Regions from separate parts of the Homo sapiens genome. Here all the other regions are linked to region 1. Evidence: promoter capture Hi-C in 16 types of primary human blood cells and fetal thymus (Javierre and others, 2016). All regions are on one chromosome and are shown on one strand. The core of a region is centred on a gene start or on the middle of the fragment in contact, and the rest is flanking DNA. Distances in the headings are between cores, read along the strand shown. Region 1 holds the start of LAS1L (LAS1 like ribosome biogenesis factor). Region 2 has its middle 220 kb from the start of EDA2R. Region 3 overlaps HEPH (hephaestin). Region 4 has its middle 60 kb from the start of VSIG4. Region 5 has its middle 4.1 kb from the start of ZC4H2. Region 6 has its middle 42 kb from the start of VSIG4.

Region 1 (3,157 bases), core at 357-2,856:
GGAGAGAAGGGGAAAAGGGTAGTGCTAGGAATAGACAGGGACAGGGTTGGAAAGTCCACATTAAATCACAGGCGAGGACCCTGAGCCATTCAGACAAGTTCCTCTGGGTGAGGAATTCAAAGGTAAGAAAAAATATCAGACCACCAAGAGACCCACAGAGATCACCTGGTCTGAATCCCTTCCTCCACATTCCAAGATAGAAAGAAAAATGGAAGAGAAGGCTTTCAGGAAAAAGGAAGAAAAAGAGGAATGCGTTGACGAGGGTACCAAAAGCTGATAAGTCAAGCAATAATCACAGGCTGATCCACAGTGAGGTACACGCAGGGTTTTGCTTCAGGTAACACCTGAAGCCAAGTTTTGCTTATCACATGCCTCCCCTGCCTCCAGTCCCCAAAGCCAACCTCCACCCCTACCCCATGCAGGTCTTACCTGACCAATGCCATGCCATAGAGCAGTCTAAGTTCATCAGTGCCCAAGCCACCAGTTACATCCAAGAGCTTACAGCGTATCAGGTCAGCAGTAGAAGCCACTGCCAGAGGGAGTTCGTTGCCTGACCTAAAGGGTCACAGTCCAGCACCATCATAAAGAGCCCTTACACTGGTCCACCCTCCACCTCAGAACCTAGGTTGTTGCAGGCTACACCCATCATATTCTGGTTCAAGAGAGCATGAACAGACACAAAACAAGAAGGTGGGAGGAGACACGGTAATGTCTGTGGGATCCAACAGTATACAGGGCATGAGGAGCTGACTAGGCCGTATACAGGACACCTAACTGGTAGACTGTCCATCAACAGTTGTGTGGACACACCCCTTTCTTTCACCCCCAAATCAACTCATTGAGCTAGAGGAGCCCCTTATCCCTTGTAAGTCGGCTCCCAACTCAATCTTACCAACTGGACTGAGGCGCCCCACTCAAACACTGTCTTGCAGGCAAGACTTCCTCCCCATTGGAATCGGAAATCTACCCTAGGGTACTAATCTACTCCTTAAGCCCTGGCTCAGGCCTCACTAGTCCCTCCGGCATCCTCTCCAAGTTGGGAGAAAGTCACTTTTTGGAGGTAATGGGTAAACCTCACAGATATAACAAGAGAATTGTTGAGGCACAACCCCTTACTTTCCATTCCGCTAACGGGATTAGCGCAAGAGATGGCTGCCGCGTTCCCCCAGGCATTTGGGAGAGGGACAACTTTAGGCGACTTAGGGGAAGACTGGAGAACAGGGCCTTATAGAAACTCGACAAAGGAAGAGGTGCAGCGCCACCAGCACGCAGGCAAAAGGGCCGAACCCGCCACCTTACCTGCTCCTCCACACCGTGATGCGGTTAAGCGCGTACCGCTGCAACTTATGGTCGTCACAGAACAGATAAACCGTCACCTGGTCCCACTCGGCCCTGCTGAGCCAGGCGACCACGATGCCGTGGGCCGAGAGTGGCAACGACCCTTTCCCTTTAACGCACTTTCCGTACCACGCACTCCACACGAGATCCATCCCCTGGGAACCTAGACCTGGCCCGGCCCCGGATTCCCACGACATACTGAGCTCAACAACAGGCTCTGTGCCGCGCCGCTCCGCACAGCCTTCAGCTCAGCGTGCTACCCTCACTCCGAACCGCCACCGCACCAGCAGCCAATAGGAGAGCGTGACCCCATACGCAAGCCCGCCTTCCAGCGTCAGCATGGCCAATCGGAACGTCAGAATTGGGCGCCGACCTAATGACATGCGGGGTTAAAAACTCACCGGCCGGAAGTGTTCTTTTCACAAAGCAAACCCTCCAGGGGCAAGAGTTCAGCCTCTAGGTTCCGCCAATTTCCTGGTTGCTAACCGGCTTCTGTACCAGACCGGAAGCGGTATGTCTTCACTGCAAGAGGAATTTTATTTTGCTCCCCTCGGCGGGTGGCAGCTTGATTGTAGTCATCCAGTGAACTGAAAATGCGATTTTAAGTATATTTTTATTGCCGTGAATCAGGACCTAACCTAGTAAAACACTGGACACTGAAGCAGGGCTACAGAGGAAATATCTCATATCGAAACAGTTACAGTTGGGTTGAAAAAATCTGCTTTTGTGGCAGGTAACCAGGGGCCCTGCCTTTTAAATTAGTACCAGCCTGGCCAGGCGTGGTGGCTCACGCCTGTAATCCCAGCACATTGGGAGGCCCAGGCGGGCGGATCACTTGAGGTCAGGAGTTCCAGACCAGCCTGGCCAAAATGGTGAAACCCGGTCTCTAGTAAAAATACAAAAATTAGCTAAGCATGGTTGCACATGCCTGTAATCCCAGTTACTCAGGAGGCTGAGGCACAAGAATCGCTTGAATCCGGGAGGCGGAGGCTGCAACAAGCCAAGATCGCACCAGTGCACTCCACCCTGGGTGACAGATCGAGACTCTGTCTCAAAAGTAAATTAAATAAATACATACATAAATAAATAAATAAATACCAGCCTAGAGACCTGAGTTTTACTCTAAATTTTGCCACTAACTATGTGGACTTAGACTAGTCTCAGTTTTCCCATCTGTACAGTGAGAGTTGTAGACTGGTCTCTAGGTTCTCTGTCATAGCAGAAAATTGTAGAATTTTACTCTGCCAACATTCCACTGCTATGTTGGTTTCAACATCCACCAAGGTATACTTAGTTTTTCTGCAAAATTCCTTGGTATTTTGGAGTTCTGGGAGAAAAGCGGTATTATGAAGTTCCTCCGATTTTACGAGTTGACTGAAATATGTTTAGGACTATGTCCCAATCCTTCTTGCAGAAGTTATTTTCCAATGTAACACTTGAGAGAGAGAGAGAGAGAACTGTTGCTAACGATCTTAACAGCATTGCTGTGAGTGGCACTTTTACGCTTCACAGCAACAAATCCCAATTCATCCTCTATATGTGCTTCTTTCTCCAGCCAACTTTTCCTAAGATATAGTCTGCCTATAGTTATTTTATTTTTCTTTTTTTCTTTTTCTTTTTTTTTTTGACATGGCGTCTGGCCCAGTCGCCCAGGCTGGAGTGCAGTGGCACAATTCTCGGCTCACTGCAACCTCTACCTCCAGGGTTCAAGTGATTCTCTTGCCTCAGCCTTCCAAGTAGCTGGGATTACAGGCGCCTGCCACTATGCTTGGCTAATTTTTGTATTGTTAGTAGAGACAGGGTTTCACCATGTTGGCCA
Region 2 (3,157 bases), core at 418-2,917, 880 kb after region 1:
TATTTTTTTGTGGTGAGAACATTTAAGATTAGAAATTTTCAAGTATACAAGACGCTATTATGAATTATAGTCACCATTCTGTACAATAGCTACACAGACATTTTTCATCATGTCTACCTGAAACTTTGTTCCTCTTGACCAATATATCCCCATACTCCAGCCCCTAGCCAAGCCCAGCAACAACCATTTAACTCTGTTTCTGTAAGTTCGACTTTTTTAGATTCCACATATAAGTGAGATTATGCAGTATTTGTATTATGTGCCTGGCTTATTTCACTTAGCATAATGCCAGACAAGTTACTTAACTTCTATATGCTTCAGTTTCCTCATCTGTAATATGGAGATAATTGTTTTTATTACCTCCTAGATTGATACATATAAAGTACTTAAAATAGTGGCTGGCAACAGATAGGTACTATATAAGGACTAGCAGTTACTGTTGTTGTCTCAGCTCTGCTATAGTTGGCTGAAGCTTAGTAAGTCCTATCACCTCTTCTAGTCCTCCATACACAATTAGAAGTTTAAAATAGGCAGTATCTCTTCTATCTGTCTCTTCCCCAATCTATTCTCCATAAACAGGTGAATGGTTAAACTGTATTATACCAATATTACTCAGCAATAAAAAGGAATGAACTATAAATACACACAACTTGAATGGGGCTCAAAGACAATTATACTAAGTGAAAAAGTCAATCTCCAAAAATTGCTTACTGTATGATTCCATTTATAAGACATCCTCAGAATAACAAAATTGTAGTTATGAACAAATCAGTAGTTACCATTGGTTAGAGTTCTAAGAGGCTGTGATTATAAAGAAGTAGCACAGGGAATTTCTTTGTCATAATGAAAGAGTTTGATATTCTGATTGTTGTGGTGGTTACCTAAATCTATAAACATGATAAAAATTTCATAAGACTACACACAAATACACACAGAAATTGCATGTAAAAACTGATGAAATTTCATTAAGATGTGTAGTTTAGTTAATAGTATTAAGCCAATATCAGTTTCCTGGCTTTGATAATATACTATGACTATGCAAGTTGCTATCATCAGGGAAAATTAAACAAAGGATAAATGGGAACTCTCTGTAACAATTTGTAACTTTTATGAGTCTAAAATCCTTTCAAAATAAAAAATAGTGAATAAGAATGTCCTGAGGGTAAATGACACTGGATATTTTGCTTATGAAGCAGGAGTGAATGGCCTGGACCTCAGAGATAGTCCACTGGAGTTGGGGTCAGGAATATCTGGGGTAAAAATCCCAGCTCTGCTACTTTCTAGTTAAATGGTCTTGGACAAGTTGTTTGACTTCTAGACACTTTAGTTTATTCACCTGTGAAATGAGGATAATACTAGTTTCTTCCCTGGCTGCACTGAGATTTAAAGTACCCAGAGCATAGTGAGTGCTCAGTATCTGTTCCCTTTCCAGAACTTTCAAGTGTTTCAAAAAAAAAAGCTATTATTTAGGATTTAGGATTCCAAACTTTATTGGTTGATTCTGGGATTCACAGAAGAACAACTCAAAGAACAACTCAGGCAAAGACTTCAAAGTTTTAGAGCATTTTCATACATCAAATGTCTACCAGATGAAGAGAGTAGTAAGTCAGATTTGCACTTCAGGTATTTTACCACCCAGGATAAGGTGTAGATTTAAGAGAACTGGGCCTCCTCAGATCCTTGCATTTATGACAAGTTTTCTTCCCAAAAGACAGACACTGATGGTTTACTTCTTTGAATATTTTATGGTGGAATTTTGTTGCATTGACCTGACTTTTGGACATAGTGACAGCTTAGAAGGCATCTCGTGACAGACCCATCATTTGATAATTGAAGGTTTTGTATAGCATCTCTGGTGGAAAACCGTCTAGTATCTGTGATAAAACCTCATGCATTATTTACCAAGGCATCCAATTCCATCTCAGGAGAGCTCAGGCTATTGGAAAGTGCTCCTTTATCTGACACCTTGGAGCACTACAGAAGTCATGTGTTTCTTCTATCGGATAGAGGCCAGGTGCCCTTGAGTCCTTAATGAGCCCCAGATCTTCCATTTTACTTCATTCCTTTCTGACAAGCAGATCTCTATATCAAACGGTCGAATTGAATTTTCAATTAGGATATAACAAATCCTCCTCCATCTAAGCATTGTTCAACATGGTCTTGCTTCCCAAATCTGATTCTTTTATAGTCTTCTTCTCAGTGTAGATGGCTTTACCATCTACCTAGAGACCTGGAAGTCATTCTTGACATTTCCTTCTCCCTCACACACATACCCAATCTATTGCATCATCCTGTGAGTGACACCTGTCTCTGAAATATCTCTTTAATTTATTATTATTTCTAGAATATTTATAATAATATTATCTCCAATCTTACTGCCACAAGTCTATTCTCTCACTTAGACTTCTAAAATGACCTCTCATTAATTATATCTGAATTAATGCTTTTGAATTTGTTCTTTGCACTGCAGCATAAGTTATCTTCCCAAAACATGAATCTGATAATATCACCCACCCTTATCCTTTCTTAGAAACACTTTAAGAGCTTATTTCTTTTACTTTTAGTATGATGTTCAAAATCCTTACTATGACCTGAAGGCCCTGCATGGACTGGCCTGGCCTACCACTGCAGCTGTACCTTTGCTTTGTTTTTCCACATTTTCTGGGCTCCAGTTTTATTGCCCTTATTTCAATACCTTGAATATATCTTGCTGCAGGGCCTCTGAACATACTGCTGTATCTGGAACATTTTTTCCCATCCTTATAAACACATTTTCTTTACCTGGTGGTCTTCTGTTCTTTCTTCAAATTTTAATTTATGTGACTTGCTCAGAGAAGCCTTACCGGATATTCCTAACTAAAGAAAGCTTCACTTTTTAATACACATTCATAGCACCTGTACTTCCCAGCACTTATTCTACCTGTAATTTTACTTTCATGTGTGTGACTTTTAAAAATAATTTGTTTTTCCTGAAGTAAAATGTAAACTCAGTGAAGAAAAGAACCAAGTCTGTTTTGGTTCATGACTGATTCTATCTCCAGCAACAAGCACCATACCTGGCATATGTTAGGTATTTAAACATTTTTGGTAAGTACAATAGATTAAAATTGTGAAGAAGACAGGGCCTGTTAGGGGCTGGGGTGTTTACAATGATTTT
Region 3 (3,157 bases), core at 373-2,872, 670 kb after region 1:
GGGGAAACTGGAAGAAAGTACTGCAAAATGAGGGTGTGCACAAGAAATCTACAAGAGATTGTGAAGAATAAGCCAGATGATACCTTTCCAATCTTATCTCCCCTCTTCCTTATATTTTAGTACCTTGGGTCCCCCCCCCCCATACTCCAGCCAACTGGGGCTATTTTTCTTTGTGAACATGCTGATTTCATGCTTTTGCAGTGCTGTTCCCTTCACTTGAAATGCTCCATCTCTTGATTCCCATTACTAGTTAGTTTCATCATTTGGAAAAAGTAAAACCATCTCATGAGCAAAGTTCATTCCAGTTAGAATTTACTGAGCGCCTAATTGGTACTAGGTAATGTGCTAGGTGCTCAGGCAGTCACATAGATATAGAAAAAAAATGATATGCTTCCTGTTATGTCAATCCAGTGCAGGAAATAGATTTGTAAGTAAATCACCAGAAAGTATATCAGTTACAATCCATGGCAACTGATACTGCAGAATTTTGTGGGATAAAATTTTCATGGATCGAAGAGAGAGTAAAGTATAGCTGAACGAAGATACGACAGGTAAGTGGTAGGATGCCATAGAAAGAGACCATAAGGGAAGTTTATTCCAGAAAGAGGAAATCATGTGAAAAGTCAACAGGTATTATCAAAGCACCTACAATATTTAAAGCTTTGGTAATGCAGAGAAAAATAGAGCTCACAGGACAATGGTGTGTGTGTGTGTGTGTATGGAAGAGGATGGGAGGACAGACTGCAGGTAGGGGTACCAGAGAGGAGGCTATTTTAGTTCAGGCCAGGGAGGATGAGGGCCAGAACCAGGGCAGTAGCAGTGAAGATGAAGAGGAGGAAACAGGTTGAGAGCTGAAGATGGAATTTTCAGATCCCCAACACGTATGGGGGCGTGGAAAATGAGATCTATATGGAAAAGGAACAATCAGAGTGGTTGTAAAAGGACCAGAAAGTATGTTGCCACAGAAACCAAGGAAGGAGAGTTTCAAGAAATAGGGAATAGGAGAGATTGGTGTGTGTGTGTGTGTGTGTGTGTGTGTGTGTTTGGTAGTGGAGAATAGTTCAATGTTGTCAGGATGTGGATCATGGTGGAGGTGAGGCCAGAAAGGACAGTTGAGCACTCATCCCAAAGACAGAGATATTCACGAGTAGAGTTAAAGTGGCATAGAGAGGAAGGCAGAGGTGTTGAGGATGACTCAGCAGTTTCAAGTTGTGTGAAACCATAGTACATAGCTGATGCCATGCTCCTGGCCAGTGCTGGAGTAGTCTGGTCTCATCTCCCCACCTTGTCTTGTGTTTTTGTTTTCCAGCCATTAATGGGTTTCTGTTCTCTAACCTGCCCAGGCTGGACATGTGCAAGGGTGACACAGTGGCCTGGCACCTGCTCGGCCTGGGCACAGAGACTGATGTGCATGGAGTCATGTTCCAGGGCAACACTGTGCAGCTTCAGGGCATGAGGAAGGGTGCAGCTATGCTCTTTCCTCATACCTTTGTCATGGCCATCATGCAGCCTGACAACCTTGGTAAGTGCCTTAGCAGCTGGCCCTAGAGGCTTTGTTGGGTATAGGGCCAGGAATGGGGTCGGGAAGAGGGAGGGATGGTGAAGAGAAAATAATAGGCATGTTAAGGGTTCTAGGAAGTTTTTAAAAACACTTGTCTTTTTCTTCTTCAATGTGCTCTCCATGTTCTGGTTACTTGGATTCCCTACTCAGCTGCAGGCAGAATAGTTAGTAGAAGGTGGAGGAAGCTCTTTTCTGGAACAACAGAAGGGAAGTTGGGATGTTGCTCAGCTTTAGTGAAGTTCTTATATGGCAGGGAGTGGACTTGACAACACAGAGATTTTATAGGTACAGTACTTTTATTGGGAGGAAGGTCAATAAAATGCACTTATAAGTGCTATCAAATTGATATTCTGTGAGGCTTTCTACAGACTCATTTCTGATCTCTCCCTCTCTCTTTCTCTTTCTACCCATGATGCGCCCCACCCTCTGCCCCCTGCCACCCCGTGTGTGTGTTTGTGTGTGTGTGTGGTGATGTAACAATTTCAGCCTGGAAATCAGAACACAGGAGCCCTAGTTCAGGCTCTTTCATTAACTTGCTGCGTAACTTTGGTCTAATTACTTCCCTTCTCTCTAGCTAGATTTCCTGCCTTGATTCTTTCCTTTCTGCCTTCCTTCCTTCTGTCCTTTTGTCCTCCCTCCATCTCTCCTTCCCTCTATATCCTTTTTCTTCCTTTTATGAAGATATTTGACTATAATGTTTCTTCAGATTCTATGTATTTCTAGAATTTCATAATAGAGCAGTTATCTTTTCTTTAGTCCCTATGGTGTATTTTTTTTTCCAGCCATTAGATGGCAATAGTGTTTGTAAGAACAACCTGTCAGCTCCACGCAGTTCCTATTAAACTTTTGTTTTACTCCTGTAAATTTCATTCATATCTGGGGGGAAAAACATCCTTGAACAAGTGTCTTCAACGCTTTAATAATATTAACCTAGTCCTGAGTTTGACAAACACTTGACATAAAGCTGGTCTCCTCAGAAATAGAAAGGACAATTTGGAGGCTATTGCAGTTTTCTCTGTGAGAGAAGCTTGTGGCTTGGACTCGGGAAGTGGCAGTTTAAACGAAAAAATAATTTTGAAGGAATTGCTGATAGGATTTACTGATGCAATAGATAACGGTGGTAAGGGAAATAGAAGAAGTAGATGTGGAAAGAAATGAGTAGACCCTTTCTTTCAACGTGTTTATAAACTAGTAGAAGGGATCATTTTAAAAGAGAGGGGCACTTAGCCCTTTAACATGTGGTTTAGATATAAAGTGCATTAGAGGTGGAGAAGTGAAGAATGTAGAACTCTATTTGGGCCAAAATAGTCAGGGAGGGCTTTCTGGAAAAGAAACATGAATTGAGTCTTGGATAATGAGTGGACTCTCATAGATACTTGGGGGTGGGGTGGGCAGGTAAGTTCCAGAAAGAGGATAACAAAATGAATGAAGATTTCAAGGTAGGAATGAATGAGATGTGTGAGAGAAACAGTCAGAGTTCCATGTAGTTGGAGTGCTAGTTGAGTTTGAGACAATGTGTGGGAGGTGGAACTGGATTGGTAGTTTGGTGCCAACTCATAGAAGGCTTTGAAAGCCAGGAAGAAGAGTTTGTAGTGA
Region 4 (3,157 bases), core at 424-2,923, 570 kb after region 1:
ATGCTGGTGACTTCATTTCTGATTTATACAGTGGTCTACTAGTCAGCCAGAGTTATATGATCCAAGCCATTGGAACATGAACAGCAGTCCAAGCACTAAAGCATTTGATTCCGTGCTGTGGTTTTACTTAAAAGAAGTAAAACTCACTAATGTGCCATGGAAAACAAGAGTTCAGTTTCTAAACTCAGAGGCAATCAAACTTAAAAACTTTGGAAATAAGCACCAGAAATCTTGATAATAATAAGCACTTCTTCAGTTCTGCAAATTTGGCATCCATGTTGCTCTGCTTCTCTCTCATCTCTTGTACTTCAGCCATCATTCTCTGGAACACATTAGGGTAGATTCTGATATCCTCAATTTTAATTGTTGGCACCTAAAATGGAAACAGTACACTTGTATTGGTTAGAAATTTCACATACCGTCGGCTCTCCATTATGGGTACTAATGAAAGAGAAGAGGCATTATTAACCTAAAACAATAGACTAAATTTTACAAATGTACCTCTTTTATAGCACTAAGAAAAGAATGCCTCATAATAGTTATTACATACTTTCTCATCTCTCCTACTAATTTAAAAGAGGATTACAAATATAGTCTCTCCCATCCTTCCCCCCAATTCCCAGAACAATACCTTACATATAGTAGACCAACAATAAATGTTTACTTAATTAAGCATATATTTTTGAGTAAATTTTACACATTAAGAACTGTGAGGGGACTGCAAGGATTAATATGTCATAGTTTCTATCCCGAAATAATTGAAAATATCCTACAGTGAGAGAATATATATAATTACAGAAGATAGTAAAGAAATTAGATGTGACTTTTACAGGCAGGGAAGTGCATTATTTAGAAACAAACCTCATTCTGTTTAGACTTGACCTCTGACCTTTTCCCAGCTCTTCCCTTTTGGAAGTGATTATGAGTGGTGTTGGAGAGGAGGCTTTATCTCATGGGATAATCTACAGTGTGGTTAATTCTCAGAAACAATCCTAAGTATCCAAAGTAGGCTACAGTTTCATTTTATAGGCTAAGTAGGTTAGGAACATATTGAACTACGTGTTTCATAAAACGAAGCATCATGCTAGAGTTCTACAGTTAAATGCAGAATAATATCTGTAACAATGATGTAATTATTTCCACAGGTGGTGACTAAGCAGGCTTTAATGATTTGGACCTGCACTGCTTGAGTATGCCTATAAGATGCAATATTGTTACATTTAATAAATCTTTTAAAACGTCTTATTTTTTCAGAATCCCATGGTATAGGCAGAACAAAAATTTTCATTTAGTAAGTACAGATAAGTAACAACAATAAAACTTTAACAGAATAAAACAACACATCGCATTATCATATAATACTCTAACTTGAAAGCTTTACATTTTTCAACTACTGTAAGTAAGCCTAGGTTCTAGCTAGCAAATAACTATAGACTATAGGTACCTCAAATTTGAATGGGAAATGGAAATGGAAAATTCTAACTTGTTTTCATCTGCTGTAAATGTGTCTGTAGAATAAGCTCATCTGTCAAAGATCCCTCATGGAGTTAACATATCGGGAATGAAGGTTAGATATTTAGACATAAAAAGATGACTATATCTGAAAAGCAGTATGTAATAAATGACAAATGAATAGCACAGATAATAAATTTTATCAGCATTAAAAAGAGAGAGCAATCCCATTTGGAATGAACTAGATGTCTGTTTTGATTCTGTGATAATGAAATAATTGCCTGTAATCTGTTTAGGCCAGAGACCACTCCTTTATTTTGTAGAAGGCATATACCATTTCCCAAATATCAGTAAACAAATGGGCACAAAAGCTAACCAGCCAATGCAATACTAGAAAAAGCATTTGAAGTTTTTGTTTTCTTCTACAAGAAAATAGAAGAAAAATCTGGTATCTCCTTTAGTATGCTGATGGTCACTTGCACTTACTAATCGGATATGAAAATCATTGTTTCATATTTGGAAGCTTTAAACTCAAATTAAATATTGGTCAGTTCATATGTCTAAATATTATTCTCAGTGAGACCAACAAGATGAAGAGCTACGTAGACTCAGAGATGTCTGTACATGGCTCCTTTTTCAATGGGAATGGATAATGATTCATCTTAGTTACGTTTCTCCTTCTTCTTCTACCTCACATAATGAAGAAGGTTATTACAAGGTCACAACAACTAAAACAAAGACCATAATGCTTTTGTATTATGAAAAAAGTGCACTGTGAACCAAGTTTCGTCTATTCCAGTGGTTCTTCACTCTTTGGTCTTATGGCCCCTTAACACTCTTAAAACTTTTTAGGAACTCCAAAAACTGTGTTTATATGGGTTGTATCTATCAATATTTACAATATTAAAATTTAAAACTAATAAAAATTTTGAATACAAATTTCTTTAAAAATTATAATAATATGAACATTATATGTTAACATTAGAATTACATTATAAGACATTATGTATCCTTTGGAAAATTCTACTGTACTTATTAGAGAATGAAGAGTGATAAAAGGCTACTGATGTCTTGGTATTATTATAAAAATAATTCTGAACTCACATATCCCATGAAATGTCTTGAGACCCCCATGGGTTCACAAATCATGCTTTGAGAACCACTGATCTAATTTATATTCCAAATACTTCCGGTTTTGCTTTTTGTCTCTAACTTCCAATACATAGACATCATCTGAATATAAGGTTCATGCAAAATATCAACATACACAGACATCTCATAAGTGAAAAACTGTGTTACTATTGACTTATAAGCAGCTCTGGGGGTGGGCAGGCAGGTTCAGCAGATATTTTGCTTATTAAGAAAAATATCAAAATAAAGTTATGGCTTCATAACTATTCCTAGTCTCATATGCCTACATTTTTCTTTTTCTTTTTCTTTTTTCTTTTTTTTTTTTTGAGACAGAATCTCACTCTGTCGCCCAGGCTGGAGTGCAGTAGCACTATTTTGGCTCACTGCAAACTCTGCTTCCTGATTTTAAGTGATTCTTGAGCCTCAGCCTCCCAAGTAGCTGAGATTACAGGCATGTGCCACCAAGCCCAGCTAATTTTTGTATTTTTAGTAGAGATGAGATTTCGCCATGTTGTCCAGGCTGTTCCAGAACTCCTGGTCTCAAGTGATCCACCCGCCTTGGCCTCCCAAAGTG
Region 5 (3,157 bases), core at 179-2,678, 550 kb before region 1:
TTTCCATTGTCCCCTTCACCTTAAGAATCCTTACCACTGACTATGTTCACACATCTGGTAAAAGTCTGGATGTGGGTATGTATCTGTTTCAATTAAATATGTTAATGGGTTTAGAGTCTGATTTGGTAATAATTTGGGAACTATCTTGTCTTTCAAGCCTCACCGAAATCCTAGTTTACAGATGAGGAAACTGAGACCAAGAGAGGCAAAGGACTTGTCTGACATCACCCTACTTGGCTGAAACAGAACCAAGACTCCTGACTCAAGGGCCTGTGCTCTTCCTATGGCCCCATGCGGCCTGTATCAAGCTGCTGCTGCTACCATGGGGCCTGAATGCCTCTGTTACTTTTCAGCCAGAAGGTGCACTCCAATATAGGGTGTCTGCAGAGGGCCAAGCATGTCCCATGCTTCCAACTATGGACATTTAAGGGAGATAGCAGTTAATCTAAGAGAAGAGGCCATGGGAAAACCTGGAGCTTGGAAGAAGGTTTGTGCTATTTGTAACAATTAAAATGTCCAAATACAGAAAGAGTAATGTGCCTCTTAGCTTCTGCTGGTTTGCTTTTGGCTCCTTGACCTCCTTGAGAACAGATGTCTCACCTGTTCCTTGCTGAATTTTAAGAATCCAGGCTAGCAGTGAGAGGAAGGAAAATGTTGTAGAGAAACAGTGGGGAAGAGAAGGAAACTATAGCCTTCTGCCCCTTCTTCTGAAGCAGCACTTAAAACAGTATCTGCAAGCCAAGGTGGTGGCTTTTCCATAGTAAGTGTTCAGTAGCTCTCAATTGATCAGAAGTTTGCAATGGCTGAAACAATATTTAAGATATGGGCTAGCAGTGAGTTCTAATGCATGATTTTATTAGAAGAACTGATTGATTTGAGGGGTTAGAAATAAAAAAAAATCTTAGTTTTATCAGGGCCAACATTATTCTTATTGCTAAGGCAATAAGGCAGGGTATGTTGGGGTTAATACCATTAAAATGCAAGAAATTAGCAAAAGGGAAGCCAGTCAGTCTCGATTATACTTTCAGGGAATAGATCAAGACTTTAAAAATGGAGGCCAGAATATTGAATTCACAGATATTTCTTTGTACTTCAACAGTGAACTAAACTAAAAGGAGGCAGAGATGCAACAACAGTCTTGGTTCCAAATTGCCTTTCAAAAAGTAGTGCAAATTACTTATTAAATTTCTCATTATATTTCTTAATCAGCATTTCTAAGAGAAAAGTGAGCCAAAAGTTTTCAGCCCAAAAATGTTTATTGTGCACCTATGATATGTCAGGAACCATCGAGGTTTCAGTGAAGATTTCATAGCAGATACGACAGACATGGGCCCTGCCCTTACCAAGCTTACCATTTAGTGAGAGAGACCAGCTATTACAAAGATCATGCATACATATATAGTTATACCTAGCAATCAGGGCTTGAAATAAGTCTAGGTTCTGTGAGCAAGACACACACACATAAGGGGAGAACCAATTTAGTCCTGAGAAGTGGGCAAGGAGTCAGGGAAAAGCTTCCTGAACAAAACTAGGCAGGATGAGAGAGGAAGGGAGGGAAACAGCAGGAGGTATCGAGGATTAATTCATGCAAACAGCCAACAAATATTTACTGAACACTTACTACATGCCAGGCACTCTCCTAGGTTCCAGGGATATATAGTGCTTTGCATGTATTAAGTTAGTTTAATCCTTGCAAAAACTTCACAGGAAGTATATATTATTATCATCCTTATTTTACAGAAGAGGAAGTTGAGGCACAGAGAAGTTAAGTAACTTGCCCAGAGTAACACAGCTAGTAAGTGGCAGAACTGAGATTCAAATTTAGAGAGTCTGCCTCCAGAAGCCATGCTCTCACCTACTATGTTCTATTAGTTACCCAAGATCCCAGTTCTTAGGAAGTTTACATTCTAGTAGGAGGAGCCAGACAATAATGACAGAAAAGAAAAAAAAATAAACATAATAATATTTGGGGGAGATAAGCCCATAAGACACTAATTGAGGATAATAGGACAGAATGATGGCAGGAGGGGGAATGTTTTAGTTAGGATGGTCAGGGAAGGCTCCTGTTCAGAGATGACATTGTAGTGGAGACATAAGGAGTTGGGCATACAATGATCTGGAGGAAGAGTGCTCCAGGCAGAACGAATAGCCGGTGCAATGGTCCTGAGTCAGAAAATGCTTAGCCTATGAAAAAAAAAAGTAGGTAGGGCTCTGGCTGATTAAGGGGAGCAGAAGTAGACTGAGGAGACAGTTTATGTCATTGAACTGTTATTCTAAAAACAGGGTCTTGTAAACCATGGTGATGAGTCTGGGTTTTATTCTAATTACAATAGGCAAACATTGAGGGTTTTAAGCAGGGGAGCAACATGATCTAGTTTTTAAACATCACTGACTGCTGTGAGAACAGATTTTATTGGGGCAAAAGTGGAAGTAGGAAAACCAGTGGGAAAACTATTACAGTTGTCCAGGAAAGAAATTATGGTGGCTTGAATTACAGTAGTAATAGTAGATATGAAGAAAAATGGGCTGATTGGGAACATATTATTGGGCACAGAACTGATATGATTAGCTCATGGATAGGATGGAGAGGTACGGAGGGCGAGATAAGGCATCTAAAATGACTCCTGGATTTTTGGCTTCAGTAATAAGGTCAGTGCCATTCACTGAAACAGGAAAGACTGGAAGAGAACCGTACGATGTTAGAGCTAGAAGGCACTCACATGTGATATATGGAAAAACTGAAGAACAGAAATGGTAATTGACCTCCCTAGGTTAGGGAGTTAGGAGCTGAGATAGGTAATCTCATTCTTCACACTCTCTCAGAAAATTTTCATGTTCTCCATCACTTCAGCCCTTCAGCTGGGGTGTTGAGGGGTGTGTTTGAAGCCTTAACTTTGAAGATTCCCCTAGGAGATGGGACTTGTGGGTGATTAGCCAGAATTTGTATCTGCTTACATAGACAGTGCTAGGTATTCTCAGGCAATGTTTCAGCTGAAATTCTTGCTGTTTTTGATGGCTTTATGTCATTGAAATTTCACTCCTCTATTCTTTCTCACCTACCCAATGTCACTGACCTAGATCCCCCAAATGCAAATTTCAGGGAACAAAGATCTGGCAGTGGAAGTAGGGGAGTCCCATTTTTCCCCTCTGCAAGTCC
Region 6 (3,157 bases), core at 355-2,854, 550 kb after region 1:
ACAGGAAGGGGAATATCACACTCTGGGGACTGTGGTGGGGTGGGGGGAGGGGGGAGGGATAGCATTGGGAGATATACCTAATGCTAGATGACGAGTTAGTGGGTGCAGCGCACCAGCATGGCACATGTATACATATGTAACTAACCTGCACAATGTGCACATGTACCCTAAAACTTAAAGTATAATAAAATAAATAAATAAATAAATTTTCGTTTTCAATAGGATAATTAATTTAGATAACCACATTTTTCCACATTCTTTTTGAATTTATATTTTAGAAAACTGTCAAACACATGTAACTGGACAGCTTCTCTAACAGTTGAATTGTTAATTTAGATTCTAAGATTTAATGTGTAGTTGTTTAATTATCATTTATTACTGTAGTTTACAATAATCTATTGTGTATTTCTTTTATATTTTCCAGATACAGGGTCTTGCTCTGTAGCTCAGGCTGGAGTGCAATGGTACAATCATGGCTCACTGTATCCTCAACCTCCCAGGTTTAAGCGATCCTCCTACGTCAGCATCCTGAGTATCTGGGACCACAGGTACTCCGTGTCTGGCTAATTAAAGAAAAAATGTTTTGTAGAGTTGGGGGTTCACCTATGTTTCCTGGGCTGGTCTCAAATTCCTGGGCTCAGGTTATTCACTCACCTCAGCCTCCCAAAGCTCTGGGAGTACTTACAATTGTGAGCCACTGTACCTGGCCTTGTGTATCTCAAAATACCTGGAAGAGGCTGAGGTGGGTTGGTCACGCCTGTACTCCCAGCTACTTGAGAAGCAGAGGTGGGAGGATCACTTGAGCCCAGGAGTTTGAGTCTAGAGTGAGCTATGATCATGCCACTGCACTTCAGCCTGGGTGACAGAATGAGACCCTGTCTCAAAAAAAAAAAAAAAATTCTGTCTAAGAATGACAATAAAAAATACATAGAAGAGAATAATTCAAATGTTCTTAGCATAAAGAAAACTATTTAAAATAATGGATATCCCAATTACACTGATTTGATCTTTACAAGTTATATGAGTTTATTAAATTACCACAGGTACTCCAAAAATATATACCTCTATGATGTATCAATAAAAATAAAATTAAAAAACAAATAACACTTATTACAACATTCTAGATGTCATGAAGTCTGAGATCCTCAAACTTCTTTCTGGTGTCTTTAGGAAAGCTTTTCTGGTGCACTGTTTTTCAGATGTGCCTATTGCTAGCATTCTGCACCTCTGTTCAGTTGATGGATGTGATGAAGACAACACATGTATGCCACTCTTCTGGGCCAACACCCAGGTAGATGGCGTTTATGCTGTTGGCTTTAGCAGCCAATACCTGTAAACATTTAATTCATGAACAGAAGTTTACCATTCATACCTCCTTCTCCAATAATATGTCCTTCCCATTGTCTTGCTTCTTAAACACCTCAGCTCCCAGATACAATTGATTTAATGGCTTAGTTCTCTTTATAGTACCCAGGCTTTAGGATATCCCTGCTTACATCTGTAATTACCATTCCCTCAAACACATTAACTCTCCCAAAAGATTCTAGCTCTTCAGGTTTCCTCTTTATACCCTCAAAATATATTTCAGAATATTCTGCCTCCTAAATGATCTTCCACTGGAAGTCTTCTCCAGCCATTTCCTTCTCAGATTTCCTCTTCTAAAACTTCCACCTCCCTGACCAGACTTAATGATTCTTCACTTGGCCCTTCCTTCTACCCAAATAGGCATCACTGAGACATAGACGTCTAAACAGGTAACTCTCCTCAGAAGATACCCAAATATCTGCCATCCATAAAATACACTTGAAAATGATATACATGTTTATTCTCCTATTTCCTTTAACAATTATAGAAAATCTCAAATTTGCAGACCAACGTTTTTCCCCAAATAGTTACTCTATATTTCTTATTACATTTATAGTATTTGCTAATTTAAACTTTTGTTGTTTGGGGGAAAGGAATTTTCACTAGAATTTTAACTAGTCATTGTTTATTGCAAAAGTGTTAATTTTATACATATATTTTATATTAAGTAAGCTTTGTTTCAATATCTTATTTCTTCAATCATCATACTACTGAATATATTTTTAATGGGCTGGTTGTCATCGTTCTATTCTTTAGCCACAAAATAACAGGTCAGACTAGTTATTTTGCAAGTGTGTTTTGGTGGTCATAAAGGGAACTGAACAAGAATATAGAGAGCAGTAGCATTGCCACCACTAAGAAAAAAACTCAAATGCATAATATACTGGCAGAGTACCAATAAATTTATTTTTGTAATTGAAGGAAAGCATTATTTGTTTAGTTAAAAATAAGACATGCCCTCACATTTTAACATAGCTGTAACCCCTATTAAATTACCAACACATTGCCGACAAGACTGCTTACCCATCGTCTCCATCTTCTGGGTTCATAGATGAAACTAAGTTTTTGGATTCATCTTTCAAATAGGTAAGACACTGTCAAGGAGACTTTCATTTTTGTCTTCAACAAGTGCATGATCATTTTTAAATATTTCCATCTAAATAGGAGTGTTAGAGGAAATGATACTTGATTATGTACCTGTTCATACATCTGGTCTTTCTCAGATCATATTTGATGTGATTCCTATTGAGAATATTTAACAATGGTATGAGAAATAATAGCAACAAGCATGGTAAATTTTTTTTTTACCCATCCTCCACCATATTATCTCAGAATGTTACAGCATCTCCTCCGCTGGAATATGGAAATATTGATGAGCACATTTGAAAGCTGAAGCCCCAGATGTGACTGGTAATGACCTGCAATGAGACACACATTTTATTGTCATTAGCTACCTGAGTGTTGCAATGGCCAAAAAACTTTGTTGTAAAAAACAAAACCAAATTTAATTATCCTTTGTCAGAAAGGTTTTCACTAAACATAAATATTTTAGGAGCTCAACATCAAAGTGGAAAAAGAAAAAGACCCAGTGCATTTAAATGGGAGGTTTAGAAGAATTAGTGACAAGTTGGAATTGTCCCTATGTTTTAGCTTCTGAGTATCTACATTAAGACATTCTAAAAGCTTGGTGTTTCAAGTATACACTGGGTCAGATAAAACTGAAGAGCAAATGGGAAAACCAACCTCTTGGGAATAATGCCTGATTCCAGGGCTGGGCAGGCAAAGTACAAAT

Evidence for each region. The method cuts DNA at HindIII sites, captures the fragments that hold promoters and counts their contacts. A CHiCAGO score of 5 or more calls a contact.
Region 2: a contact is called between a fragment that was not itself captured here and the fragment with the promoter of LAS1L in region 1, in 1 of 17 cell types (non-activated CD4 T cells). The highest score is 5.4, in non-activated CD4 T cells.
Region 3: a fragment that was not itself captured here is called in contact with the fragment with the promoter of LAS1L in region 1 in 1 of 17 cell types (monocytes); the score reaches 5.7 in monocytes.
Region 4: a fragment that was not itself captured here is called in contact with the fragment with the promoter of LAS1L in region 1 in 4 of 17 cell types (monocytes, activated CD4 T cells, non-activated CD4 T cells and 1 more); the score reaches 5.9 in monocytes.
Region 5: a fragment that was not itself captured here is called in contact with the fragment with the promoter of LAS1L in region 1 in 1 of 17 cell types (fetal thymus); the score reaches 5.1 in fetal thymus.
Region 6: a fragment that was not itself captured here is called in contact with the fragment with the promoter of LAS1L in region 1 in 2 of 17 cell types (activated CD4 T cells and non-activated CD4 T cells); the score reaches 5.6 in activated CD4 T cells.

Annotation. Positions count from the first base shown.
Region 1 is chrX:65,533,181-65,536,337 of GRCh38, forward strand. LAS1L (LAS1 like ribosome biogenesis factor) reads right to left here and starts at 1,607. Exons shown (of 14, transcript NM_031206.7): 1 at 1,300-1,607; 2 at 430-555. The coding sequence starts at 1,535. RefSeq lists an enhancer at 1,702-1,881. The HindIII fragment of the contact is 19,270 bases long and covers 1-3,157 here.
Region 2 is chrX:66,414,477-66,417,633 of GRCh38, forward strand. No RefSeq gene overlaps it. Among named protein-coding and RNA genes, the nearest start is that of EDA2R, 220 kb to the right of the region's middle. The HindIII fragment of the contact is 2,394 bases long and covers 471-2,864 here.
Region 3 is chrX:66,199,231-66,202,387 of GRCh38, forward strand. HEPH (hephaestin) reads left to right here. Exons shown (of 21, transcript NM_001367233.3): 12 at 1,310-1,522. Among named protein-coding and RNA genes, the nearest start is that of HEPH, 37 kb to the left of the region's middle. The HindIII fragment of the contact is 1,928 bases long and covers 659-2,586 here.
Region 4 is chrX:66,098,373-66,101,529 of GRCh38, forward strand. No RefSeq gene overlaps it. Among named protein-coding and RNA genes, the nearest start is that of VSIG4, 60 kb to the left of the region's middle. The HindIII fragment of the contact is 600 bases long and covers 1,374-1,973 here.
Region 5 is chrX:64,978,925-64,982,081 of GRCh38, forward strand. It overlaps a transcript of ZC4H2 not described here. Among named protein-coding and RNA genes, the nearest start is that of ZC4H2, 4.1 kb to the left of the region's middle. The HindIII fragment of the contact is 167 bases long and covers 1,346-1,512 here.
Region 6 is chrX:66,080,651-66,083,807 of GRCh38, forward strand. No RefSeq gene overlaps it. Among named protein-coding and RNA genes, the nearest start is that of VSIG4, 42 kb to the left of the region's middle. The HindIII fragment of the contact is 862 bases long and covers 1,174-2,035 here.